7 separate regions of the Homo sapiens genome follow, and regions 1, 2, 3, 5, 6 and 7 are each linked to region 4. Evidence: promoter capture Hi-C in 16 types of primary human blood cells and fetal thymus (Javierre and others, 2016). All regions are on one chromosome and are shown on one strand. The core of a region is centred on a gene start or on the middle of the fragment in contact, and the rest is flanking DNA. Distances in the headings are between cores, read along the strand shown.

What was found. Contacts are between HindIII fragments. The CHiCAGO score rates a contact against its expected background, and 5 or more counts as called.
Region 1: a fragment that was not itself captured here is called in contact with the fragment with the promoter of STAMBP in region 4 in 16 of 17 cell types (total B cells, activated CD4 T cells, erythroblasts and 13 more); the score reaches 13.1 in total B cells.
Region 2: a contact is called between a fragment that was not itself captured here and the fragment with the promoter of STAMBP in region 4, in 7 of 17 cell types (naive B cells, activated CD4 T cells, non-activated CD4 T cells and 4 more). The highest score is 7.4, in naive B cells.
Region 3: a contact is called between a fragment that was not itself captured here and the fragment with the promoter of STAMBP in region 4, in 17 of 17 cell types (erythroblasts, non-activated CD4 T cells, activated CD4 T cells and 14 more). The highest score is 11.1, in erythroblasts.
Region 5: a fragment that was not itself captured here is called in contact with the fragment with the promoter of STAMBP in region 4 in 3 of 17 cell types (non-activated CD4 T cells, activated CD4 T cells and fetal thymus); the score reaches 9.5 in non-activated CD4 T cells.
Region 6: a fragment that was not itself captured here is called in contact with the fragment with the promoter of STAMBP in region 4 in 14 of 17 cell types (activated CD4 T cells, naive B cells, total B cells and 11 more); the score reaches 9.1 in activated CD4 T cells.
Region 7: a contact is called between a fragment that was not itself captured here and the fragment with the promoter of STAMBP in region 4, in 5 of 17 cell types (activated CD4 T cells, non-activated CD4 T cells, erythroblasts and 2 more). The highest score is 9.2, in activated CD4 T cells.

What each region holds. Positions count from the first base shown.
Region 1 is chr2:74,251,082-74,255,105 of GRCh38, forward strand. It overlaps SLC4A5 (solute carrier family 4 member 5), which reads right to left. Exons shown (of 31, transcript NM_133478.3): 14 at 3,538-3,625; 15 at 1,893-2,047; 16 at 1,098-1,307. Among named protein-coding and RNA genes, the nearest start is that of MTHFD2, 54 kb to the left of the region's middle. The HindIII fragment of the contact is 4,323 bases long and covers 1-3,517 here.
Region 2 is chr2:74,298,773-74,302,882 of GRCh38, forward strand. All of the region lies in intron 7 of SLC4A5 (solute carrier family 4 member 5), which reads right to left. Among named protein-coding and RNA genes, the nearest start is that of SLC4A5, 43 kb to the right of the region's middle. The HindIII fragment of the contact is 6,556 bases long and covers 1-4,110 here.
Region 3 is chr2:74,210,203-74,214,224 of GRCh38, forward strand. MTHFD2 (methylenetetrahydrofolate dehydrogenase (NADP+ dependent) 2, methenyltetrahydrofolate cyclohydrolase) reads left to right here. Exons shown (of 8, transcript NM_006636.4): 6 at 997-1,089; 7 at 1,539-1,664; 8 at 3,877-4,022. Among named protein-coding and RNA genes, the nearest start is that of MTHFD2, 14 kb to the left of the region's middle. The HindIII fragment of the contact is 2,871 bases long and covers 1,298-4,022 here.
Region 4 is chr2:73,826,644-73,830,344 of GRCh38, forward strand. It overlaps STAMBP (STAM binding protein), which reads left to right and starts at 2,318. Exons shown (of 10, transcript NM_213622.4): 1 at 2,318-2,867. LOC105374807 (a long non-coding RNA gene) reads right to left here. Exons shown (of 3, transcript XR_940246.3): 1 at 3,673-3,701; 2 at 2,114-2,261. RefSeq lists a silencer at 2,089-2,307. The HindIII fragment of the contact is 5,447 bases long and covers 1,457-3,701 here.
Region 5 is chr2:74,270,857-74,274,755 of GRCh38, forward strand. The region is part of intron 8 of SLC4A5 (solute carrier family 4 member 5); the gene reads right to left. Among named protein-coding and RNA genes, the nearest start is that of SLC4A5, 71 kb to the right of the region's middle. The HindIII fragment of the contact is 790 bases long and covers 916-1,705 here.
Region 6 is chr2:74,319,285-74,323,467 of GRCh38, forward strand. The region is part of intron 5 of SLC4A5 (solute carrier family 4 member 5); the gene reads right to left. It also overlaps the pseudogene RNU6-542P. Among named protein-coding and RNA genes, the nearest start is that of SLC4A5, 22 kb to the right of the region's middle. The HindIII fragment of the contact is 1,554 bases long and covers 1,111-2,664 here.
Region 7 is chr2:74,230,249-74,234,161 of GRCh38, forward strand. It overlaps SLC4A5 (solute carrier family 4 member 5), which reads right to left. Exons shown (of 31, transcript NM_133478.3): 23 at 3,154-3,315; 24 at 2,221-2,399; 25 at 988-1,060. Among named protein-coding and RNA genes, the nearest start is that of MTHFD2, 34 kb to the left of the region's middle. The HindIII fragment of the contact is 1,477 bases long and covers 1,146-2,622 here.

The sequences.
Region 1 (4,024 bases), core at 106-2,605, 420 kb after region 4:
GCAGAGTTTCTCAACCTCAGTTCTGCTGATATTTTGGACTGGATACTCCTTTGCTGCAGGGGCTGTCCCATGCACTGCAGGATGTTTAGCAGCTACCTACTAGATGCGAGTAGCATCTCCCCTCTCCGGTTGTGACAAGCAAAAATGTCTCTGGACATTGCCAAATTCCCTGGGCTCGGGGGTAGGGGGACTAAGGAGGGCCAAAGCTGCTTACAGTGAGAACCACTGGTATAAAGCCAAGGGCATATAAAACATGACTTCATTCTCAAAGTCATGATTTATATGTAGATTTTCAAGGCCACATCCTTTCCTAAATCTAGATCAACCTGAATGACTCCAAGAGCTGGAAAAGAAACCCAGGCCAGGAGAACTTTCTCTTATTTTCTTTAAAAAAAAAAAAAGTTTTTGAATAGGTAAATTAAGTTTTAAAAAAGGTACTGTTATTGAGTTGTGTCCCCCCAAAAGATATATTAAGGTCCTAACATCTATGTAACACCTATGCAAATGTAATCCAGTTTAGATTAAGTCATTATGGTGGGCCCTATTCCAACATGACTGGGGTCCATACACAAAGAGGAAAGTGCTCTGTGAAGACAGACACACAGGAGGCCATGTGGTGGAGAGGCAGAGCCGGGGGTGATGCGGCTGCCAGCCAGGAACACCAAGGACTGCTGGCCACCACCAGAAGCCAGGAGGAGGCCAGGAAGGATTCCACCTGGAGCCTCAGGGAGCACGGTGGTCCTGCCAACACCTGCTGTGGAACTCCTGGCCTCCAGAACTGCAGGAGAGTAACCTTCTGTGGTTTTAAGCCACCTAGTTTGTGGTACTTTGTTACAGCAGACCCAGGAAACAGGCACCAAAGGATATCTAAGAGAAAAGTTTGGGTTCCTCTCCTCTTGTATGGGTCTCAAATTCCCCTCTCCTGAGGCAACCTTTTGGGGATCCATGATGGGGTTCAAGGGCTCTGGGAGGGAAAGAAGGCAGGGGTGACCTCGAGTGGGCACTACAGACCATGGTTGGGAAAAGTCCCTAGAGGGCAGCTGAGAAGGGAGAAGTCTAAAGGACAGCAGGGTCACTGGGAGGCCTGGGGTGGGCACCTTCCTGTCCAGATAAGTTCCTCCCCGATTTCATGCATGGCTGGCATCTCTCCATCATCCCCGCTGCTTGTTCCGCCGGCCCCGCCACTGCCAGCCCCGCCGCCACTGCCACCACCACCACCACCTCCATTGCCTCCTCCAGGAGCTCCGCCGCCTCCTCCCACAGAGCCATTCATCTGGCCCAGCTCTGCTAGGGAGAACACAGATTTCCTGGAAGAGAAGGGGGATGAAGGAGAGTGGGTCCCCCAGAGCACCCCTCACCTCTCCAACCAAAATTATGAAATATCTTAAAAGACAGACAAAAATGCAGAAAATTGTCTAACAATATCCACACGCAGGTCACCTAGATTTTACAAATGTTCACATTTAGCCATATTTGTTTCTGATATATCTTATTATTTTTAAACTTATTTTAAACATTATTTTGAGACAGGGTCAAACTCTGTTGCCCAGGCTGGAGTACAGTGGCATGATCACAGCTCACTGCAGCCTTGACCTCCTGGGCTCAATCAATCCTCCTGCCTCAGCCTCCAGAGTAGCAGGGACTATAGGTGCATGCCACCATGCCCAGTTAATTTGATTTTTGTTTTGTAGAGACAAGATCTCACTATGTTGCCCAGGCTGGTTTCAAACTCCTGGGCTCAAGTGATCCACCTGCCTCAGCATCCCAAAGTGTTGAGATTACAGGCATGAGCCACTATGCTGAGCCTCAGATGTATTTTAAAGAGAAATAAAATGATACCGACAGAGTTGAAGCCTCCTTTTTCTCTCCCTACTGCCCATTCTCATACACACCTCTTGTCAGCAGAGGGCACCTTCTTGGGGGGCTCAATCCGGATATTTGGGTCCCATTCTCCAGGAGGAAGGACGATGACCTCATCCAGAAATTCATCAATTCCTGCGATCAGATCTTCCCGATTGCGGGCTTTGTAGGCCACGTCACTGAAGAGCTGGCGAGGAGAGAGGAGGGAGAAAAGAAAGATCGGGTCTGTTTCTGAAATGCCTGGGAGCATATCACATCTAGTTTTTAAAGGAATCCCTTTGAACCACATCTCCCACTGCCAACTCACTCTCAGTTTTTGGAATGAGACTATAGTACATTGGTAAAATATGGCACAATGGGACACAGCAGGCACTGGGGGAAGACAGCCTCTCTTGGATCTGAAGGCCAGGTCTCCATATTCTTGCTTGTAGGACTTCGGTTAAGTTACTTAACCTTTCTGTTTTCAGTTTTCCACACATCATACATATTAGAAAACCTTTGTAGAGCCCAGTCCAAGGAGCTCAGATATTTCATAACCATTTTTTACTTCCAGCCCTTCGCCCTTGGAGGCTCAGGCCGTGTTCTTCACACTGTCTCCAGAGTGTGCTTTCTGACTTACAGATTCGATGGGACTATGCTCACATTTAACCCTTTCCCATTTAGGCAAAAAAAAAAAGTGCAGCTCACTGCCAGCACTCATTTAATTTTACATAAACACACTCTTTGAGGCCGAAGCAAATCTGACTGATTTTCAATGTGAAAATGCAATATAAAAATTATTCTTAGAATTATTTCTAAAAAGAACTAACATTGGAATCATTGGAATGATCAGAATCATCTATTTTGGAAACACTGGATTCATCAAATGAATCTTAGGCCAAAAACTGTTCGAGAATGATGTTAGCATCACTCGTAGGAATGCTAGTTTTCTAGGATTTGATATTTTCAATGATTGAGAGTTAGTGTATTTTGTAAATGGAAATGCCACAACTAAAAACAGAATGCTTTAAGTAGAATGATGTCTTTTGTTTCCAAAGTCAACATATAAGAGCAATGCAAAAATAATAATAAAAGTGAGACATTTCGTGGGGAAAAGTTATCTCAGGGTAAAGCCTGCAGCCGCAAGCACCGCCAGTGAGTATTCTTGGCACAAACGGAAAAAGAGTTAAAGTCCTCTAGGCTCCCCATCACTCTGGGGACAGAGTGTGACTCAGCTCTGCTTACAGGCTCTGTGTAGTCTCTGGCTCACCTCTCCAGTATTACCTCCTGCCCTTGAAGCTCTTACACTGAGCCTATATCAAACCACCTCCATCCAGCTTCTCTGAGCCTGATCCATTTCCTTTGTTTGGAATGCTTGCCTCACAGCCTGGTGCTGGGTCTACCTTCCTCCTGCTCCTCCTTAGCTTTAAAGCCCCCTCATCTGTGAAGCCCTCCTTGACCCCCTGGGCAGCTAGCACATGGTTAGTTTTACAATTATCAATCTGTCCCTCACACTTGATTGGTTCTCCTAAAGGACAATGACTATTCCCTGATTCTCATAATCTTTAGCATCCTATGTAGTGCCTGGTACACAGTAGGTGCTCAAATGTGCTGGCTGGATAAGTTAATGAATGAAGGTGCAGTGCTTGGTGCAGGAGCTGTAAAATTCAGGAGTACAAGCTTCTGGTTACCACTTACATCATCTACCATGAGGGTTGCAATGGCACGGCCAATTTCATTGTAGGATTTTGCTCTCCCAGAAGGTCCCAGTAGTATAAACAGAAATCTGCAAAGAAGATGGAGGAGGAGACAGAGAAGATTAAGGAAGAGGAGCATGAAAGTGAGAAGGAAAAACAGAAGCAAGTGAAGAGAATTCTCTGGCCCTGAACAGTATGCATTTTTTTTTTTTTTTTGAGACAGGGTCTTGCTCCATCACCCAGGCTGCATGGAGTGCAGTGGCGCAATCTTGGCTCACTGCAACCTCCACCTCCTAGGCTCAAGTGATCCTCCCACCTCAGCCTCCTGAGTAGCTGGGACTACAGGCGTGTACCACCAAGCCCGGCTAATTTTTTGTATTTTCAGTAGATACAGGGTTTCACCATGCTGCCCAGGCTGGTCTCCAACTCCTGGGCTCGAGCAATTCACCCGCCTTGGCCTCCCAGAGTGCTGGGATTAGAGGAATGAG
Region 2 (4,110 bases), core at 392-2,891, 470 kb after region 4:
CAGTGGCATGTGCCTGTTGTCCCAGTGCCTCAGGAAGCTGAGGCAAGAGGATAGCTTGATACCAGGAGTTCAAGTCCAGCCTGGGCAACACAGTGAGACCCTTAAAAAAAGGCCAAGGATCTGAATAGATGTTTTTCTAAAGAAGACATATGATATGGTTTGGCTGTGTCACCACCCAAATCTCATCTTGAATTGTAGCTCCTATAATCCCCATGTGTCATGGGAGGGACCTGGTGGCAGGTAATTTAATCATGAGGGTGGGTTTTTCCCATGTTCTCATGATAGTGAATAAATCTCGCCAGGCGCAGTGGCTCATGCCTGTAATCCCAGCACTTTGGGAGGCCGAGGAAGGCAGATCACCTGAGGCTGGGAGTTCAAGACCAGCCTGACCAACATGGAGAAACCCCATCTCTACTAAAAACACAAAAATTAGCTGGGTGTGGTGGTGCATGCATGTAATCCCAGATACTCGGGAGGCTGAGACAGGAGAATTGCTTGAACCCGGGAGGCAGAGGTTGCGGTGAGCTGAGATTGCGCCATTGCACTCCATCCTGGGCAATAAGAGCGAAACTCCATCTCAATAAATAAATAAATTTCATGAGACCTGATGGTTTTATAAAGAGCAGTTCCCCTGCACATTCTCTCTTGCGTGCTGCCATGTAAAACATGCCTTTGCTCCTCCTTCACCTTCTGCCGTGATTGTGAGCCCTCCCCAACCATGTGGAACTGTGAGTCCATCAAGCCTCTTTTTCTTTATAAATTACCCAGTCTCAGTTATGTCTTTGTTAGCAGCGTGAGAATGGACTAATACAACAAAGAAATAGCCAATAGGTATATGAAAAAGTGCTCACCATCACTAATCATCAGGGAAATGCAAATTAAAACCAAAACCATAGTGAGATGTCACCCCATACCTGTTAGAATGGCTACAAAAAGCAAAAGATAACTAGTATGGGCAAGAAAGTGGAGAAAAGGGAACACTTGTGCACTGTTGGTGGGAATGTAAATTGGTACAGCCATTATGGAAAATAATATGGAAGTTCCTCAAAACATAAAAGTAGAACTAGTATATGATCCAACAACCCCATCTCTGGGTATACACCCAAAGGAAGCCAAATCAGTATCTTGAAAAGATACCCACGTGCCCATGTTCACTGCAGCATTATTCACAATAGCCAAAACAGAAACAACCTGCATGTCCACTGACAGATGAAGGGATAAAGAAAATGTGGCATATACAAATATATACAATGGAATATTATTCAGCCATAAAAAAGAAGGAAATTCTGCCATTTGTTTCAACATGGAAGAACCGGGAGGGCATGACGCTAAGTGAAATAAGCCAGAACTATTGCATGTTCTCATTTATATGTGGAATCTGAAAAAGTTGAACTCATAGAAACAGAGGGCAGAACAGTGTTTACCAGGGGTCGGATGTGGAAGATGGGGAGATGTTGGTCAAAGATAAAAATATTCCAGGGATCTAATGTACTGCATGGTGACTATAGTTAATAATACTGTATTGCATACTTGAAATTTGCTTAGAGAGATCTTAAGTGTTCTTACCATACACTCGCACAAAGGTAACTATGAGTGGTGATGAAGGTGTTAACCAATTTGATTGTGGTAATCATCTCACAATGTGTATGTATATCAAATCATGTTTTATACCTTAAACATGTATAATTTTGTCAATTATACTTCAATAAAGCTAGAAAAGAGAAATGTATGAATTTCCTTTTCCTTAATTCTCCCAGCTGCCTTTTCTAGCTAATTTTTACCTATCATTTAAGACTCATGACAGGTGTCACCTGCTCCAGGAAGCCTGTGCTGCCCCCTCTGCCACCACTCACCACCTAGGCCTATGTGCTCCTGTTTCTCCTCCTATAGTTTCCTGTGCAGACCTCCATCAACGCACCTCCCACCAATTTATGCTTATCTGTTTGTGGGTCTGTCATCTCCAGGTGCAAGATATTTTCTCCAAGGAGCTCTGACATGATCCAGAGAGCAACTTTGCAGCAAGGGGCTGCTTTCCATGTAGCGCATGGAGCCAGTACAAGAAGGACAAGGATGCCTGGGCTGGCCTCTTTCCTGCCCCTGACCTGCTGTGGGAATGAGGACCAGCAGTTACTTGGGCCTCAACTAGAGTTAAAGCAGGGACTTCACAGGGTTCTGTAAGCTAAATGTGGTTCAAGGAAGCATCAAATTTCTTTAGGATAGTGTATTTTTTAACCAGGTACACTGGAACTTAATAGAAAAGTACAGACACCCAAGCCCCATTCACATCTAACACGTCAGGCAGCTGGATTGTGTATTTCAAAACTGTCCTGGAGGTTAGGAACCTTGCAGCATATATTAAAGCCACCCTCGTGGGTCTCTGTGGAAGGAATAAAAGTCAGCTACCTGGCCTTTGTTTCAACTTTATAGTTATGATTATTAATATTATACATTTAGTTAAAAATGATATTGAACTATCATTCTCAGGGGGCTTTCACAGGTACCAAGCCCCTTCACATATACTGTCTTATTGGATCTTTGCCATTATTCTGTAAGGCAGGAACTGAAGGGGTCTCTGCTCAATCCTCCATCTGCATAGTGTGCCTGACCCTCAGGCCCAGACACATCTAGCCACCCTGCCTGGCCCAGGCCCCTCATACTCTGCAGGATGCCCCTGTTCTCTGAAGTGGGAGTTCCTGCTGGGCTATGCAGCCAGACCAGCTGGGCCCCCTGCCTAGGTGTCTGGATGGATTTACAGAACAGACAGGACACTCAGAGAGGAAAAACATATGTGGTCAGGTGTCCTACAGCAAAGAGAAGTGGGAGATTCAGACAATTATCCAGATGAGGCAGGTAAAATGATTCTGGCGCTGTTTTATTTTGACTTCTGCAGGGCATTGGCACTATCCCTGAGATGTGGCAAGAGCAAGGTTTATATCTGTATCACACATACAATGCCCATTTTGCTTAGAAGTGAAAGACTGAGGGTTGAGACTTCCACTCCGTGAAGAACAGCAGAAACCAACTCAATGCCCATGGGCTGCAGAAAAATCACTGTGGTTGGTGACTTTGTTACCAGGCTTTGTGGCTTCCTTAAACCGGAGTGTCTGGAACTGGGGTCTGGAATGTATTCTCAGGGGTAGAAAGGTTTTACTTGAACTTTTAAATTTTGCTTCCATTTTGATAATCTTAAAAATATTCCTTTTATTAGATGGAACAGCAAAATTTGGGTTATAATTCATAATTGGAAGATATTTTTATGGAATAAAACCCTAATTAGTTAGATTATTTCTCAAATTGGAATATGTGGCTTCCTGGGGCCCTACAAATATACAAATGCATTTTCATGGGTACACAAGACTTTATTTTCCCTTTAAAAGGGGTTTTTACTTTACTCCAGCTTATGAGACATGGCCTACAATTCCCTGTCCTCCTAGGCTCTCCCATTCTCCCTTTCCTACTCCACAGCCCTGTCGGGAACAAGCCAGTAACACACACACATAGTATAGGAAGAGCAGACGGTGAAGGAAATGCACCAATATATTTGGTACAAATATGCCAAAAGGGCTGGACGTGGTGGCTCATGCCTGTAATCCCAGCACTTTGGGAGGCTGAAGCAGGTAGATCACTTGATGTCAGGAGTTCGAGACCAGCCTGCCCAACATGGTGAAACCCTGTTTCTACTAAAAATACAAAAATTAGCTGGGCGTGGTGGTACGTGCCTGTAATCCCAGCTACTCGCGAGGCTGAGGCACGAGAATCACTTGAACCTGGGAGGCAGAGGTTGTAGTGAGCCGAGATCGCGCCACTTAACTCTAGCCTGGGCAACAGAATGAGACTGCGTCTCAAAAATATATATATGCCAAAGCGTTCTACATTCTTTTTCCTTTGGTTTGCATTTAAAATCAGTGTCCACTTAACTGAACAAGACACCACCAAAGCAATGTCAAATCCACCATCTATAACTACTTCTGTGATGTTCTATGTCACCTCTTCTAAACTCTTTGAGCAGAGGGCACCAAATCTAAACTGCTTTCTTCTTCTCTGGCTCAGGAAGGACCCAGCAGACTCCACCTTCCAAGGACGACCTCAATCCTGAATGTAGGAGAGGTG
Region 3 (4,022 bases), core at 1,483-3,982, 380 kb after region 4:
GAAGCTGCACCCAGTGTCACCTGAGTTTCTTTATTATTCATTTATCATGTAACTAGCTTCAGAAATAAATTTAAGTTTTGAGTATAAGCATGGTTGTAGGCAATTAGAAAATTTCAGCTATAGCTTTGATAGCTGGAGCTAAGGAGCAATTCTTATTCAAAGATACTGTGTCATTTAGTGGAAAAAAATCTTTAGCCGTTGCAAAGGATTGGATTGGTATGACTGTAATGTGTCCTGTCAGGTTCTGTTAATTGGTTCTAAGGTAAAGCCTCGTCAATCAGTTATCACATAATTATTGTAATAATGACCTTACATGATTATATCAGAAATAAAGGCAAAACTATATACTTTCAACTATCTTTCAACATACTTAAAACAACCTTGAGTAATTTTAGTGATATTTTGCTTAGAAAAGGTAAAATTCTTGAAAGGCTTTAAAAATAGGATGAATAAATTTAATTATATGACTCAAAACAGTCGAGCTGGGACCAATGGGTTAAAGCTATATGATATTAGGTATTAATTTTAAAAAAGTAAATGACAATTAGCTGTTCAGAAAACATGGCACAAGCCATTAAGTCAGTTTTTTTTTTTTTTTTTCCTGGAGATGGAGTCTTGCCCTGTTGCCCAGGCTAGTGCAGTGGCACAATCTTGGCTCACTGCAACCTCCACCTTCCAGGTTCAAGTGATTCTCATGCCTCAGCCTCCCAAGTAGCTGGGATTACAGGCATGCGCCACCACGCCCAGCTAATTTTTGTATTTTTAGTAGAGACGGGGTTTCACCATGTTGGCCAGGTTGGCCTCGAACTCCTGACCTGGTGATCTGCCCACCTCGGCCTCCCAAAGTGCTGGGATTACAGGCGTGAGCCACTGCACCTGGCCGTAAGTCAATTATTTTTCAGAGATGTTGAGTTTCTACAATGACTTGACTAGTTGAGACCTAATCCAATCCCAGCTTTGTGTCAGAAATCAAGACATCTATTTTTTTCTTTCTAGGTGATGCCACTGTTACAATATCTCATCGATATACTCCCAAAGAGCAGTTGAAGAAACATACAATTCTTGCAGATATTGTAATATCTGCTGCAGGTAAGAACACAAGGGGGATGGAGGGAAGGACTTCACCTCAGAAGAGGAGGTTGTACCCCTCATCTTAGAATTCGCCTGCCTAGCTGCTATTCATCATTCCCCTTGTAATGATTCTTTGAGCTGCCTACAAAGATGAGGATAGAGTTGTGATTGGAATACCGGTTTCTGGCAGTCCATTATAGTCTAGATGGGTGAATGTTATTCCTAAAGCTTCAAAATATTTATATTAATATTTACTGTATAAAGTTTAAATGGTTCCTTTTGTTTCCTGTCAGGAGCCAAAATAAAAAAATAATAAAAGTAAATAGTTCCTTAGTTAATATTTTTAACAGGTTTTAATAAAACATGTTGATTAGTTCTTCAGGGTCTCTTGAAATTGAAGTTAGACAAGAATCTGACAGGTAGACTGTTTTCAGTACTAAGTTGATCTTTCCTTTCTCCATTTCCAGGTATTCCAAATCTGATCACAGCAGATATGATCAAGGAAGGAGCAGCAGTCATTGATGTGGGAATAAATAGAGTTCACGATCCTGTAACTGCCAAACCCAAGTTGGTTGGAGATGTGGATTTTGAAGGTAAATGGTGAAATTTTATTTTTAAAAATGAAATCAATAAATACTACCTTTCATGGACATTTAGGATAGATTATTTACTTTTTTTTTTTTTTTTTTTTTTGAGATGGGAGTCTCACTCTGTTGCCCAGGCTGGAGTGCAGTGGCGCGATCTCGGCTCACTGCAACCTCTGCCTCCTGGGTTCAAGCTATTCTTCTGCCTCAGCCTCCCGAGTAGCTGGGACTCCCAAAGTGTTGGGATTATAGGTGTGAGCCACTGCGCCCAGTCAGTATGCTTTTCCCTCCCTCTCTCCTTCCCTTCCTTCTTTCTTTCCTTCCTTCCCTCCATCTCTCTCCCTTCCTTCCTTCCCCTCCCCTCCCCTCCTCTCCCCCCACCCCTTTCTTCCTTCGTTTCTTTCTCTTTTTTTTTTTTTTTTTTTTTTGAGACAGTCTCACTCTGTCACCCAGGCTGGAGTGCAGTGGCACCATCTCGGCTCACTGCAGCCTCCACCTCACAGCTTCAAGCGATTCTTGTGCTTCAAGCCTCCCCAGTAGCCAGGACTACAGGCATGGGCCACCACGCCCAACTAATTTTGTGTATTTTTAGTAGAGACGGGGTTTCACCATGTTGGCCAGGCTGGTCTGGAACTCCTGGCCTCAAGTGATCCACCCGTCTTGGCCTCCCAAAGTGCCGGGATTACAGGTATGAGCCACTGCACCTGGCCTTAGTAGGCTTTTCATAAGAATTAGAGAAACCTTTTTAAAATTATGGCTTTTCTAGAATTATTTTAGGTGTTTTATCATAGTGATGGAGAGCAGTTATAAACTTTTCAGGGAATTGTTTTTTTCCTTAGACTTATTTCATAATTCAAGCAATTTCTTGACTTTTAACAAGTTTGAAAATTTGATGAAGTGATTTTTCTAAACCATGGAGTTTCCCAAAAAGTGTTAGAGATTTCTCATTTTCACACTGAGAGATCACAGGCCTAGAAAGTTAAAATGGTCCAGGAAAAAACCATACCCCTGAAATACTAGAATATACTAGTAGATTTCTTCTTTCAGTTCTGTTTTTTTTTTTAAGAGGCAGAGTCTCACTCTGTTGCCCAGGCTGTAGTGCAGTGGTGTGATCTCTGCTCACTGCAACCTCCACCTCCCAGGTTCAAGTGATTCTTCTGCCTTAGCCACCCAAGTAGCTGGGATTACAGACATGAGCCACCATGCCGGCTAATTTTTTGTATTTTCAGTAGAGATGAATTTGGCTGTGTTGGCCAGGTTGGTCTTGAACTCCTGGCCTCAAGTGATCCGCCTGCCTCAGCCTTTAACAGTGCTAGGATTACAGGTGTGAGCCACTGCACCTGGCCTCTCCTTTCAGTTCTTAAGATAGAATGTTTATCCGAGTTTTATGCTGATAATCCTTTTTTTCTTTCCTTTTTTTTTTTTTTTTTTTTTTTTGAGACAGGATCCCTCTCTGTTGCCCAGGCTGGAGTACAGTGGCAGGATCTCAGCTTACTGCAACCTCTGCCTCCTGGGCTTGAGCAATTCTCCTGCCTCAGCTTCCTGAGTAGCTGGGACTATAGGCACATGTCACCTCACTTGGCTAATTTTTGTATTTTTTGTAGAGATGGGGTTTCACCATGTTGCCCAGGCTGGTTTCAAACTCCTGGCCTCAAACAATCTCCCCCACCTCACACCCTGCCTCAGCCCCCCAGAGTGCTGGGATTACTGGCATGAACCACTGTACCCGGCCTATGCTGATAATCCTATTCCTAGCTTTCTGTTTTTATTAAAGCAGTCAAACCCATGCCTAGGTATGTAAGGATTTTCACTTTAACATTAGGTTAATTTTTTTTTTAACTTCTCACTTTTAAAAAATTACTGTGCTTTCTGCTTTGGACAAATTATACTTAAAATTAAATTAAGAAAATGCTATAGGCAGGTATTGAGGTAATGCTTATTATTGTTATACTTACAACTCCCACACAGTTAACCTACTAGATATTTCTTTAATAGATTTCTTTATAGGTTACTTAGATGTATAAATATTCCTTGAACAACTCTGTATGTGCATGTTATTTTACTAGTGTGTTCACAAAACCTTGAATGATGTAGATGTGATTTTTGAGTTTTATGCTTATGTATGTTACTTTTTCCTTGCATGCTTGTTTAATAATATATTAAAGTACACACATGTCCTTTGCCATAACTAAAGCAGCCTGCCTGTCTTGTTTCTATGTAGGAGTCAGACAAAAAGCTGGGTATATCACTCCAGTTCCTGGAGGTGTTGGCCCCATGACAGTGGCAATGCTAATGAAGAATACCATTATTGCTGCAAAAAAGGTGCTGAGGCTTGAAGAGCGAGAAGTGCTGAAGTCTAAAGAGCTT
Region 4 (3,701 bases), core at 1,068-3,567:
GAATGAGCATGCAGGAGTGCAGGAGACCTGACGTTGGCATATGCAAGCGGCCAGATGGAGGCTGCTATATTCAGGAAAAGTGTTCATGGCTGGGAGTGAGCACCGGAAGGAAAGAGCATCTCAATTCCTAACCTGGTCTAGTCTGCCAGGTGAACTGCTGAAGCCTATTTGCTGAAGGAATACCTTCCACGCTTAGCCTCCAATCTTTAGGGCAGGGGTAGGTAGGATATTCTCATCAGTTATGCCAAGAATCTTTTATAGCTTTGATTTCCTGATTGTGTATACAAAATTGTTTAGTTTTTAAACTTTTCCAGTTAAACAAGAAATGAGGAATGTAAAATTTTTACCTTGGCCAAGATTTTCTTATTTCAGGTCCCTAGAAAGCTGAGTATTGAACTTTGCCCCAGATATCAAAAACTCTGGTCAACATTTACAAATTCTCTCCCTAAAAAGACTAGATCCTGCTTCCTATATTCACTTAGCTATTACCTTAAGAACTGCTAGCAACTGGGCATATTAACTTTCTAATATCAGGAACAGCCTCTATGTGGCGCTAGCTATGTTTACGACTATGCACACCCCTTATATGTGTGTCTCAGTTATAGCTTCTTAAAGTCTTCTCATCATAATCTTAAAATCTAGGATGTTTGTAAATTTTCTTTACTTGTTAAGCTAAACATTATAAAAAAAAGAACTACTTTAGAGATTGTGCTGAATGGGAGCAGATGCCCCTCCCTACCCCACCAGCTGTACTTCTACCTGTGCTTCCACCATTAGAGTATCCACCTGCTGGGTTTGTTTGCTGATGTATCCCTAACACCTAGAACAGAACCTGGCACATAGTAGACACTCAGTAAACATTTACTGAGTGAGAGGTTGAATGGATCAGATTTTGACCTGTGTTGCCTCCTGCCAGGACCCCATCTGCACTATAATGCCCACCCAATGACCAGCATCTCCAGTGCATCAATTTCTTTAGGCCCAACCCATCATGTTTACATTCTGAAGAGAGTCAGTAGAGAGAGTTTTGAAGACACAGTAGAGTGCCCTATACAATTATCTTCCCAGATTTATCTGCAGTAGATCCATGAGAGTTGATAGTAGACCCATGCACATTAATGCTTGCTGGGGGCAGAAGGGGAGGTGATATGATGCAAGCAAGTACTTTCAACCCTAAGTCTGAAAAGTTGATGACTACACAAAATCACTTCAGGTAACTCCAACAGAAATATACACAACGGAGGTTGGGAGAAATGAGAGATCTGGAGGCTGGCTAGGTGGAGGAGGCAACACCTGAATTAGGGATTTAAGCTAGACCTTGAAGAATAGGTCATGCCATCACACTAACAAACTCACAGGGAGGCTCCCAAATTTTGGGAAAGTGTCCCCCAGAGACTTAGACTTTTAAACCAAAGCCTAATGTTTCACAAAGTCTTCTGAGACAGAATGATTAGCAAGCTTGTAGGACCTTTTTGTAAAGAGGATGTATATGGATTCGTACAGACACACATCTACATGCAGAACGTGCCATTCTGTATTTGATGCATAAAACCACCTTGTCCCGGTCTCAGGGCAGGAACAGTGTCATACAGATTTTTGTGTCTCCACTGCTTTTGCATAGCGGCTCTTAGAGATTAAACGCTTTTTTTCCAAATATTTTATAGGTTTTTTGACATTAAAACGTTAGTCTCATCTGGGTGCGGTGGCACACGCCAGTAATCCCAGTACTTTGGGAGGCAGAGGCAAGAAGATCGCTTGAGCCCTGAAGTTGGAGACCACAGTGAGCTATGATCACACCACTGCACTCCTGTGACAGCCTGGGTGACACCGCAAGACCCTGTCTTAAAAAAAAAAAAAGTTAGACTTATGTTCTTTTCTAAGCAATAAAATTAGTCTTAGATATTGCCTAATATCTAAGACTACCAATTTTTGTGTAGAATGTAATACAAGCTAAAAAATACATTCGAAAGACTTTCTGTCCCCCAATTTATAAATCCTGGTTAGTTTAGCTAAGTCTGCAGTTGTGCTGGGATCAGCAATCCCTCCTTAAATGCAGGAGTATTGTGAGTGTGATGAGGGACTACCCCAAATCAAAATAATTTTAAAAGCAAACCTTAGCTTGCTAATTGGTTCCACTTTCTTCCTTGTTCCTTTTCCTTTACCAAGATGGCCGCTGTGTCGTTCGCTCCTCATTGGTCGGATTTTCCGCAGGTGCCGATTCTAGCCCCACCTACTAGCTCTCCGTTCCAAGTCCTAAATCACTGGGAATGTAATAGACAGACGAACGGGAGTGGGCGGAGCGGGCGCCGGATGTGACGTTTCCGGAACCTCCGGGTGTCATCCGCGGGGAAAGGTGGGGAAGGGTCCCGGGAACGTGGTGGGGCAGGGCCTCCGAGCGTGGTTGGACTTTGAAGGGGATCGGCCGCCGTGAGTGTGGGGCCTGCAGCCTACTCTCCCCGAGTCCCCTGCCCGGCCTGCCTCGCTCGAGGCACCCGACGGCTTCTGTCTCCGCGGGCTGGCGCCTGACCAGCCAGGCCCAGCGGTTCCCCGCCTACTGCATTTGAAAGATCCCGAAAACCCTGGATGATTGTGCCTGGGGTTGGCAAGTTCGTCTTGAGTGCCTTCAAGAAGGGTTCCTCAAGCAGTTGTCGATAGAGCCCTCCCTACTGTATACGCCCCCTCCGCTCATTCCTGCTACTTCCTTTCTCCTCCTCGTATTTCCCCCTCGGTCCTTTACGCCGCCTTTCCCCCTCATTTGCAGATGCTGCATCCCCTTTTTGGAATTGCTCAACCAGGTGGTAACCGGCGCCGCTTCCTGGCCTTGGGAGGTGGTTCCTTTCTTAACCCACAAGAACCTCTCCCAAGAGGTACTGAGATGCAACAAGCATCCTCTGTTTCAGTTAACTTTCATGGGCCGTGGACTAGGTTTACTAATTACTTGGGGAGGTTTTAGATATGCTTGCGGCTTTCTGAGTCCCTAAGGAGGCCTCGTGAGAGATGGACTATCTCTGCATCCCTAGTAGTCCTCACGGCTTTTGTGCTATTAGTGAGGGTGTTTTAGAGGGGAAGGTTTGTGGAGGAATTGTGACCCGAATATTGAAGAGACCTAAAGATGGAATTGGCTGAGAGAAGACTACCCCTGAGGGAAGAGTTGTAGTAGAAAAGAAAAACTGGATAGATAAATGAAACTGAAATGTGAGGATGCCTGGGCGGATTGGAATCCTGACTGAAGCAAAAGATCTCTGTTGGGGAGGGCCAGTTGCCACAGGGCCTTGAATTCCAAGATTTATTCTACTGTAGTTTGTGTATTCTAGAGCATACTGATTAGGGTTTGCTGTAATGCAATGTGTGTCAAATGCCCAGTTTTATTTTGGAGATGATAGTGGTGATATCTGGTTGGAATTTGGAATCTGATTCTAACAGCAACTATATCTAGAAAGACTAGAATTACTGGAGTTTTGGGACACCAGGGGTTTTTGCAATGCAAGTTACCATCGTGCCTTTTTGTTATTCAGTGTTTAGTCTATGAAGATGAGTAAATGGTTGTTTTCAAGATTTAAGTCTCTTGCCATGATAATGATGAATGAATGATTTTATAGATTGACTATAGTGGTTTAGTGAGCAGAGTTACAATTATGAGCATTAATTCCCAGACCAGTTCCCCTAACTCACCTTGTGCTCAAATATGAAAAAGGATACCA
Region 5 (3,899 bases), core at 61-2,560, 440 kb after region 4:
AAACGTAGCTCACATGGATCTGATTCTCATTATACAGCAGGACATGGCCTCTTTCCCTTAGAATGGCTCCAAGAACACTAGCTGAAAGGGTCTCCTTTCTAGCACAGTCATGCTATGCTTTAGTTTCTCTGATTTTATAACTGAAGTCCATTTACAGTACATATTCTACTACACCAGTGTGCCTCAAACTCTAATGTGCATGGGGATCTTGTCAAAATGCAGATCCTCATTGAGCAGGTCTGGAATGAGGTCAAAGATTCTACATTTCTAATAAGCTCCTAGGTGTGCTCATGCTGCTGGTCTGCAGATCACCTCTGAGATCATGTAGAATGTCCTCTTTCCTCTCTGTTTTCCACTGCCCAGCGAGAATGCCCCTTCCTCCACAAAGCCTCTGCCAGTTATTCTGCTTATTTCTCCTATAACACCCTAGGATGGTTCTCAACCTGAAGCACTTTAGAAACCACTGTTCTAGGACAGTGATTCTTAAGCTTGCTTGCATATAAGAATACCCTAGATGCCTTTAAAATCTTCATGTCTCAGTCATATCCTAGACCAGTTGACATCAGAATAAAAACGGGTGGGATCCAGGCAACTCTGTGCTCCAGACTATCCTAGGTAAAGTTTCTAACTTCTTAGGCTCAGAGCCTAAAATAATTAATTAATTCAGGCTCAGTGCCTAAATTAATAATTAATTGTAGCCAATCATGTTTTATGATTGTTTTGGTATATAACAAATGCCAAATATACATTAAGCTTTTTGAAGACAGGTGCCATTTCTTCCTCTCTGGTGTCCCCTTATGGTCTCCTGCCCAGATCAATTGCATTAAATGCTTGCTCCCTTCTGCTTGAGGGTAGCAAGACCTCACTGATCACTTTGGGTGAGATCTCGCTATGAGGAAATGACTGGGGAAAAAAAGCTTAAAACTCATTTTGTTTAAGTATATTTAAAAATACTCAGAAGCCGGGCATGGTGGCTCACACTTGTAATCCCAGCGCTCTGGGAGGCTGAGGTGGGAGGATTGCTTGAGACCTGCCTGAGAAACAAAGCAAGACTCCACTATACAAAAAATAAAATAATTAGCCAGGTGTGGTGGCATATGCCTGTAGTCCCAGCTACTCAGGAGGCTGAGGTAGGAGGATTAAGTCCAGGAGTTTGAGGCTGCAGTGAGCTGTGATCGCACCACTGCAATGAAGCTGAAGTGACAGAGAAAGACCCTATCTCTAAAAAGAAAGAAAGAGGCCTTATCTTTTAGAGACATAATGAAATATTTACAGATGGAATGATGTGGTGTCTGGGATTTGTGTCAACCTGACCTAGCATGTGTGTCTGTGTGTCTGGGGTAGTAGGTGGGGGACAGAGAAACAAGAATTGCTATGAGTTAGCTGTTAACTGTTGAAGCTGGGTGATGGGCAGGTGGGGGTTCATTCTGCTATATACTACTTTTGTATAAATTTGAATTTTCCATAATAAAATCCTTAAACATTCTCCAGAATGAATAAAGGAATGGCCTCTGTAAAAAGCCTCTGGTCAAAGCCAAGTTTAAAAACTTGCAAAAGCCTGATAATAAGGTTCATGTGTAATCCCAAACAACTCATTGCAAAGTGAACTGTGTACCATGGTTGGCTTCAAAAAGTGGGGTATTAGAGTTGGGGAAGCAGGTCAAGTGGAAAGAAAATCTCCACGTTCTCCTTCATTATCCAGCAAAGCTTTAACTTTTAGGGATTTTGCCCAAGCTTGGGTGTAGACCCCCAACTCTGCATGCCAGGGTGGGCACCAGGTGCCCCGCTCCTGACTGGAATGTAGCTAAAAGGAACCTTGAAATGTCACTTGTCACAGAAAGCAGCTCTCTGTCACACAAAGCAGGGCCAGAACTGAGGCCTTTTCTGTGCCTAGTAACTCGGTCAGAGATATAATTAGAGGACATTGCTGTTCAATTAATAACAAGAGCAGGAGAAAGCATCATGGCGCTAGCTACCAGGTACAGTCAAGGCTTCCAATGCTCAAACCACAGGATGGGAGAAGAGGAGGTTCTCCTTCAAGGAGGATCTGGAAAGGGCTGAAAACCAAGAGACCTCTATTCTAGTTGTCTCCTCAGATGGAAACTTCGTAACTCCCACTGATCCTGCTGGGCTAGAGTAAGTATCAGCAGTTTTCAATGGCTGCATTAGGATCATCTGGGAGCTTTTTACAAATTCTAAAACCCAGGCTGAATCTCAGACTAATTACATCAGAATCTCAGGGGACTGACAATCAGACATCAATATTTTTTAAAAGGAAGACACAGATCCTTGAGATGATAAAACAACAGGCTGCCCATTATGTGTAGTTAGATAAGAGTAAAATCTGGAGAATATACATAAACATTGTGATTGAAGAGAAGCTTCTATCTATACTATTTTGAATATCATTATAATTAAATAGTGTCTTGGTTAGTTTGTTTGCAAAATCCCCCCTAGGACATTCTAATTTAAAAAATGTAATCTCCCAATGTATGTAACCTTTAATGCTAAGGCTATGTTGCCTCCAAACATTTGTTTTAAGAATTACATTTGTGTGAATTTGTTTCTTTCATGAAGTTTACTCAGCTAAAATTTGTAAAGTATATATCCCTGTGGTCACTCTATCTATGTGGCCTCACCAACTTTATTCTGTAACTCTCCCACCCCGCCCCATTACCCAAAAGCTTGACTTCTGTGTATTAGTTACAAAGCATCAAGACATGTTTGTGCTTTCTGCCTAAGGCCTGTAATACATTTTGTAACTCCAACAAATTCATTTCTTAAAAGTAAGAAATGTAAGTTTTCCTTCAATATCCAGCAAAGTTTTTTAACTTCATATGAGTCATATCAGGATACTGAATTTCCCAACAGATACTGAAGACCAGTATTAATTCACTTAGAAGCCCGTTAAGAATTTTCCTAGAGATGTCTGAGGAATCATCAGATACTCCCCTGGTTCAGTCTTTGACAGAGGCACTAAAAAATGATCTGTGGAAGGAAGATTTTTCAAAAGGGGAACACCTGAGGCCGGGCCTGGTGGCTCACGCCTATAATCCCAGCACTTTGGGAGGCCAAGGCAGGCAGATCCCTTGAGGTCAGGAGTTTTGAGACCAGCCTGGCCAACATGGCAAAACCCTGTCTGTACTAAAAATACAAAGATTAGCCAGGCGTGGTTGTGCATGCCTGTAATCCCAGCTACTCCCAGCCAAGCACTATGCTAAGCACTTAACATGTATTATCTCATCTAATCCTTAAATCTATCTCACGAGGTAGGTCTGTGACTATTCTCATTGTACAGGTGAGGAGACTGAGACCCTTAGAGGATGAGGAGCCTGCCCAAGGTGGCTGAGGCAGGAGAATCACTTGAGCCCAGCAGGCGGAAGTTACAGTGAGCTGAGATGGTGCCACTGCACTCTAGCCTGGGCAACAGAGCAAGACTCTGTCTCAAAAAAACGGGAGAAACACCTAAGCAAATTCTGGCCCATTCTTACAATTTATTTGGCTAATTCATGCTACATAAAATCACATGCATGAAAATATGTATGTGAGATAGTACAACAAGTTGTTTCTACAACGGATTATGACTTTGCATACCATGTATATGTTAATAAACCAAACTTGGCAGTAAATTTGAAAGATTATAAAGTATAAAAGACTGAGGGGGCAGGCATGGGTCAAGGGTCAGCACACATATGGAGAAGTTCAGAAGCTACCAGAAGGGGCTGATGAGCACCAGAAAGGCCTCACAGGCCTCTTGGGGCACCCACCCCGGTCCAGGCTCAGAAATTTTATCTTTTTAGTGTCCCAAAGATGATTAGGTCCAGTGACACTGTCTAATGCTAACCAAGATCACAAAGGCTGATGCATAAACCTGAAGGCCAATTTATTTAATTTACAGT
Region 6 (4,183 bases), core at 638-3,137, 490 kb after region 4:
TACACTAAACTCAAACTTCACCACAATGAAATATATGCATGTAAGAAACCTGAATTTGTACTCCCTAAATATATATTTTAAAACATTTAGGTTCTTTAAAAAACTATGTAGCTGGTGCTCGCTTTAGTAGCACATATACTAAAACTGGAATAATAAAAGATAAGCATGACCCCTGTACAAAGATTACAAAACAAAGACAAAAACAAAGATAGTTAATATCTTCAAGGAGATTGTCATAGGTTTGTTTAATATAGTTGCTTTCTTGGCATCCAGTTTTTGGCCTGACATAAGTTGTTTGAAACCCAATTAGTTGTACTCCTTTGGCCTAGTTAAAACTTCCCCTCCCTATATGATTGTTTGCAATATAGTGCATTCTCTCTCTTTTTCTCTCTCTCTCTCTCCCCATTCACTGATTGAACATCCTACTGCGTCTTGACTTCCCATCAGCCACCCCTAACCTCTTTGAGATCTGTAAATAATAAATTTCTTCTGTTTTATGCATTTTGGTTTCATTTGGTCTCACCTGACCATCTAAACCTTACTCTCCTCCTGGTTAGAGCTCTCCTAGAAAGTGGCTATCTTGGTTTCTGGCTACTCTCCAGAGACAGCTCTCAAGACCAAATTAGAGGAAATCACAACAGAGACAAGAAAAGACATTGTATTCATGACGACAAGAAAAGCAGAATGCTATAAACCTATGAACCTATAAGTTTTTAAAGAATAAGACAGAACTTTTCGAAATTAAAAATACCTTAGAAGAAAATTTTCAATAAAAGACTTGGAACATAAATTTGAAGGAGTATATCAGATAATAGAACACAAATAAAAAGAGATTAAACAAATACTATGACAAAACAAGAAAACCAGAGGATCAATCCAGGAGGCCCAAACATCAAAATAATAGGAGTTCCCAAAAGAGAGATAAAAAAATAGTGGAGAGAAAATTACCAATGAAATAACATGAGAATACCTTCCAGAACTGAAAGATCTGGAAGAATTTTCTGATTGAAAGAACTTTCGATCAGCTCAGAAAAAATTAATTTTTAAAAAATCCACTCCAAGTCACATCATTATGAAGCATTAGGACTTCATGGATAAAGAAATCTTAAAAGCTTCCAGAAAAAAATAAGTCATCTACCAAGAATCTGAAACAAGAATTGATATCAGATTTCTCAATCACTACAGTGGAAGCTACAAGACAATGAAGTCATGCTTCCAAAAGTGAGACAAAATTATTTCCAACCTAGAATTCCAGTCCCAATCAAGCTATCAATCAAGTGGGAGGGTAGAATAGGGGCATTTTCAGACATAAACTATCTCAAAAATTTACCTTCGATGCACCTTTTTTTCAGGAAGTGACTGAAGGAGGAACTCTAGCAAGATGAAGGACTTGCACTAAGAAAGAAATTAAGTCTGGGAAACGGGATTCACCACAAAAGATAGGCAAAGGAAAGTCACCGGAGAAGAACCCTGCAGCAGTCCAGAGAGCAACAGGCACATCTTAGAGCAGGCTCTGGACAGGATGTCTTCAGGAAAAAAACCTGGATCTGAAAAATGGTCTTGATGTGTTTGACTGTTGCAAGAGGATACAAAAACTTTGTCAAGAATAGTCATAGAAAGGAAAAGTAATCATGGTACACTATACTCAACTGTGAGCAATATTTACACAGTCATAATAAATCAAGTGAGTGTTAATTTTCCTGAAAACAGCAATAGAAACAGGGTTGATATTCCACCGATACGCATTGGTATGGCTGCTATTTATGATTGGTGTCCATTTTTAGTGATCAGGTATTCATTTGGGTTGGTCAATGTCAGTGCCATGTTGGTTGTTAAATATTTTGAATATCACCACTGGATGTAACTATTTGGGGAGTATAAAACACCTGTGGAGGATGCTGCTAGTTACTTCCCTGATGCCCATTCCCCTTTCTGCTCTGACTTTCTGACTTCTGCTCCAGCCACAGTAGCACTATGGCCAACTAAAAAGAAACACTTCCCTCAGACACCCTTCAGCTCTCTCTGGCTGAAGAGCTACAGGAGAAAGAACCTGAGGAAGGAGTCCCTTCCTAGATAAAGCATTTTCAGAAGAAAGCCTCTTCACTTTTCCTTCTTCTTCCTTCCTGGATAGAGTTGCCAGGTTTAGCAAATGAAACTACAGTTTGCCCAGTTAAATTTGAATTTCAGATAACAACAAATAACTTTGAGTATATGTTCAGCACAATATTTGGGATATACTTCTACTAAAAATTATGTGTTGACAAAGGTGACCCAGATGTGGTTACTGAAAACCACACCTGGGTCATCTGACAAAGGACTCTGGGAAAGTAAGTTTTTACTGGGAAAATAATATTGAGTCTGTCAGTAAGGGAAAAAGGGAGAATGCGCATTGGGTAGTCATCTAGCATGTCTCCTACACTGTCCAACAACCATTCCCTCTTCTGCTTGCCTATTTACAAAACTTTATTTTGTTCAGGTAGAGACACAGGGCCCTTGATTGCCAGTAGTCACCTTCCCTAGGCTCAGGCATGAGCTGGGATCTATATAAACCATTCACGGTATTCTGGTTGCCCTTAGCCAGTCACTGAGTTTAGGAATAGTCATGTGACCCTATTCTAGCCAATGAGATTTAGGTGGAAGTCCATTGGGTAAGACTTTCAGGAAAGCTTTTATTTTCCTAATTGAAAGTGACACAGTTGGAATGCACAGTTTGTCCTTTACCCTCCTGCTTTCTTGCACGGACCTTGAGACTTTGAGATAAAGCAGCCATCTTGCAACAATGAGGTGACAGGTATGAAGACCAAAGGCACAGGCTAAGAACAAGGCAGAAGGATAAGACAAATCTGGGTTCCTGAGAATATCACTGAGCTCTGGACTGCTTATTGCTGGATTTCCTGTTATCTGAAAAAAAAAAAAAATCTCTATATTTAAACTGCTAGCCAAGTTTTATGTTACTTTTAGCTGAGGCCTTCCTAACTGACACATAATGGATGACTATGGACAGTTGAAATTAATGAACTAGATTTTTATGTATTAACATGTATAAATCTCAAAAACATAATGAGAACAAAAGGAAGTTGTAAAAGAAAATGATATTATTTACATAAAACTTTAAAACAAACAAAACACTACCAATATTGATTATAGTTACATTTATAAGTAATAAAATCATAAAATTATGTAGAGGAATGATACACACCAACTTCAGGTTACTTCTGGGGAAGGATAAGGTTAATGATGCTTGATGATCTTTGGTATTTTGGATAGATGATAGATATACATGTAGATATGAAACGAATATGATAAAATGTTAACATCTGTTAATTCTGGACAGTAATATATCAATATTTGTCATATTGTACACATTTGAGGTATTTTATTATTAAATTTTTAAAAGTATTTTTAAAAATAACTAAGAGGTCTCCCCAACACTATGAGATAATAGTCTCAGGCAAAATGGGTCAACTGAGCACTCTGCACAGAAAATATCTGGGAAAAAAACTCCTCACACTTTGCTAGATCATTATGAAATTTTAGAACAGTGACTATGAAGAAAAGAAAGATCCCAAAAACTTCTAGAGTAAAACAATCAGAAACAGGTCACCTGTCAATGAATAGAAATCAGACTAGCAGAAGACTCCTCCTCAGCAAGTTAAATAAGAGAAGATAATGGGCAGGGTGCGGTGTCTCACACCTGTAATCCCAGCACTTTGGGAGGCTAAGGCGGGTGGATCACCTGAGGTCAGGAGTTCAAGACCAGCCTGGCCAACATGGTGAATCCCCGTCTCTTATTAAAAATACAAAACTTAGCCGGGTGTGGTGGCACATGCTTGTAATCCCAGCTACTTGGGAGGCTGAGACACGACAATCATTTGAACCCAGGAGGTGGAGGTTGCAGTGAGCTGAGATTGTGCCACTGCATTCCACCTAGGTGACAGAGTGAGACTCTGTCTCAAAAAAAAGAGAGAGAGAAGATAATGAGCAAAGCCACCCAAAATCCAAGGGAGAATGTTTCCAACCTAACATTCTCCACCCAGCCAAACTACCAGTCCAGAGTAGGGGTAGAAGACATTTCCAGACATGTAAAAAATCATTTTACTTCTCTTTCATAACTTCCTAGGAAGTTCTTTAAAAAAGTTACCCATCATTAATCAAGAAGGAGAAGACAATGAGATGCAGGAGA
Region 7 (3,913 bases), core at 634-3,133, 400 kb after region 4:
AGGGAAAGGGAGAGTGATGGGCGATTGGCTGGAGTGGAGAGCAGGGAAGCCTGGTGGGAACACCTTGCTTTCTGGAGTCTCTCCAGAAAGAGACCCTTGTGGGGGACGCCTGCCTCCATTGTACCCCTACTTGACTTAGTCTCTTAGCTGTTGTGGTGGGACATAAGCAAGAGGAGCTTCAAGCTGTGTGGGAAAAAGTCACTCGAGTCCCCAGACTTCCTGAGCTCAGGTGATCCTCCCGCCTCAGCCTCCTGAGTAGCCGGACTACAGGGATGTACCACCATGTTTGGCCTCCTGCTGCAAGTTTTAAACTTCATGAGCCCCAAACCCTGGCAATGTGGAAACACACCCCATTCAGGAAGTTCCTGATCTAAGCAGGGCTACAACTTGGCAGAACTTTCAGAGGGAAGAGTATCCTCCAGAAAGGTGAGAGTGGCCCTGGGATGGGTGGGAGAGAGGATTGGTGATGATAAAAAACTGCAGTATCACAGAAAACGGCGGTGACAGTGTGGAAACATTGCTTTGGCCTAGTAAGACTGTGCCTTTCTTTTTCTTTTCTTTCTTTTTTTTGTTTTGAGACGGAGTTTCGCTCTTGCTGCCCAGGCTGGAGTGCAGTGGTGCGATCTTGGCTCACTGCAACCTCCACCTCCCGGGTTCAAGCCATTCTCCTGTCTCAGCCTCCCGAGTAGCTGTGATTACAGGCACGTGCCACCATGCCTGGTTAAGTTTTGTATTTTTAGTAGAGACAGGGTTTCACCATGTTGGTCAGGCTGGTCTTGAACTCCTGACCTCAGGTGATCCGCCTGCCTCGGCCTCCCAAAGTGCTGGGATTATAGGTGTGAGCCACCATGCCCGGCCAAGACTGTGCCTTTCTTAGGGGGCTGATAGGCCAGTGATCCCTAGCCATGTGGGGACCCCCTCCCTGCCTAAGGCATCCGCTCTGCTTTCTCAGGCAACGAGGCCCTAGGTGACAGTGCAGGACCTCACCTTTAGGATGGGAGCCAGGAAGACAGAGATTCCCGTCAGGATGAAGACGATGATGCCGGTTACTCTCTGTTCCCTGGCAGAGAAGAACACATGGTCAGGGTGTACCAGGAAATGCCTGGCAACTACTCTGGCCCTCCTGCCCCTCTGTGGGCACCTGAAGCTTGTGTCCAAGGCCATGGCCTTGAGGGCTTCTGCATGAAGCTCTGCCTGGTTGCCTGAGGCCCAGCTGAACCATATGTGGGAAGACAGGCGGCCCCTGACTGGGGCAAGGGCATCTTGCAGGAGCATTGAGGGAGGCCGCTTAGTGTAGTGGCTTGTAGCTGGGGGGCTTGAGCAGGACTGATGTGGACTGGATCCTGGCTCTGCCACTTGCTAGTTATGTGGCATTGGGCAGGAGCCTGCCCATCTTGAGCCTCAGTATATGCAGATAATAATGGCACCTATTGTGAGGATACATGCGAGATAAAATGCTATTACTCTGCCCTTTGATTTTAAGATTTCGTTTTTGTGGGGCACAATGAATGAGGATCTGGGGAAGAGGACACCAGCAGAGCAGGTGTCAGGGGTGGGAGGCAGGTGAGCCCTGCAGTCGGGCAGAGAAGCCTCATTCGGGCAGGCTGGGCGGTCCAAGTATCTCAAGATAGTGGGAGAAGTTCTTAGGGCAGCCACGTAGGAGAAAGCCAGGGTTTGGTGTGGTCTCGCCCTGGAGGCCCTAAGGGGCTGAAGATGTACTTCTCTGCCTACCATGGGGCGTGAGAGAAGAGGCAAGTGAAGGAACAGGAGTAACAGGCAGGGCCACAGACTGGGGAGCGGGGGTGATCCCAGGACAGCCTTCTGGAGGAATAGAGACTGAGCAGGACCTGAACCCGCAGGAGGGCCATCAGGGCAGTAGGGGCCTGGAGGGTCTTGAGGAAGAGGAAAAGGGCAGGACAGCACGAAGCCTTGTGGGGACCTTGGGTGGCTGATGAAGATGAGTGTCTGGCACGTGTGCATATTTATGGATGGGGTATGCATACTGCTTGGAGCCCAGTAGGTAAAAAGCCCCACTTAGAGCTGGACTTCTGTCTCTCTCCTTCCCTCCCTCCAGGGATAGCACTCCTGTCCCTGTGGTTCTTGGGCCGTCAGAGCGGGGGCCCTTTTTGTCCAAATCCTTTTGTGGCAGGCAAAGCCAGCTTCTCCTCCCCGAGTGGGCCCCTCCCCATTGGGTGATCCCTAGGCCCTGACCCCTCCTACCTGACTCCCAGAAACTGGGGCTGCTCCCCAGGGGCACTGGTCTCTGTCTCCATCTTGAGGCTGTCGATGTGGGCGATGGAGATGACCGTGGCAGCCACGTACCAGGGGAGCCCCATAAAGGAGCACAAAGCCATGAGGATGCCCACCCAGAACAGGTCCAGATGGTAGCCGGCAGCCTTCTGCAGGAGCGGGGTTGGGGGAGGGAGAAGTTTCTGGGGAGCCAGTTCCTCCTGGATGCAACCATTCTGTGGAACATGGTTCAAGGACCCCCTGCCTTCCAGAAGATACTGAAGGGGCCTGAGGTGCTCCTTGCAAGGATTGCAGAGGTGGGTGTGTCCTGCCACCCCATCTGAAAGGGTGAACTGCCTAAGGGGTATGGGTCATAGAAGAGAGGGATGTTCAAGCTTGGAGAGGCCCTGGGTTTGGGTCTCTGGGGAGAAGGGCCCAGAAGGTGGCCACAGGGTCTTTGCGGTTCCTGAGGGGCCCCAGCTGGGACAGGCCACACCTAAAGTGGTCCAGACCTGGATGGGGGAGGGGGTGACCCGAGTCTTCTCAGGCTCACAGGCTGGGTGGGGAGTTGCAGAGACCAGGAAGGCTAAGGAAGTTCCTCTGCCTCAGTGTTCTAGGCTGAGCCCCTGTCAGGATCTGCTGATTCTCATAAGAACTCGAGGTCACTTTGGGAAAGACAGAGAGCCTGTGCCCAGTGGCCCAGCCTAGTTTGGTCCTGGTCCTCAGAAAGTCACTCCAGCCCTGGTGGCCTTACCCACATCTGGAGGTCACATTTCCCCCTCAACACACCAAGTGGGAACTCTAGTCTCTGTCCTCATATTTTCCTGGCCCAAAGTACTGAAAGAAGCATCATGTCCTTCCTTCGCTCTTTCTGACTTTGTGGGAAGAAAGAGGTTATGCCTCTGCTCCTAGTACCGGCCTTACCTTCAGTTTGTTCTCCTTCCGGTTGACAATGACGGCAGTGATCTGCTGGTCCATGAAGATCAGGATGGTCACCAGCAGGGCGGGCAGGATGCTTGCTGGGTATACCCACCACGGGTTCTTCCCAAAGGGGGCCACGAACCAGCCTCGGTCAGGCCGCGTTGGCTGAGTGGGAGCAAACAGAGAGGGGCCCTTTCCTCTCTCCCTTGTCCCAGGGCACTTGTCGCCTGGCCTGCTGTCCCACCTCCTCAACTTTCCCTGACTTTGGGTACTTTTCAAGTGCAATCTTTTCCCTTAAACACCTTAGGTAGCTGCAACTTTAGACTAAATTCAGACATGGGAAGGAGCATGCATGCAGACAGTGTCTGTAAAACTAAGAAGGTAATTTGCTGCAACAGCCCTGGGGTTTGTCAGGAAACATGGAGGTGAAGGTCAGAGGGCAGCCAGGAGAGAGAGCACAGTCACCTGCTGCAAATAACAAACAGCAGGAATGAGGCCCAGCAGAAAAGAATAAAGAAATGGGTGGGCCCAGGGCCAGCTGCTTCTGCCTCTCCTGAGTCACCTGTCTGGGAGCATTATAGAATTGTCTGTAAAATGCTGAACATCAGTTCAGTCCTGCATGTTCAGAATGAGGAGAATATATAAAAAGACTTTGTCTCAAAAAACAAACAAACAAACAACAACAAAAAAAACCTTAAAGACAGGGAGGGTAAGTTCTAGAATCTGGACTCCCTACTCTGGTGAGATCGTTGGTGCTCTTTTT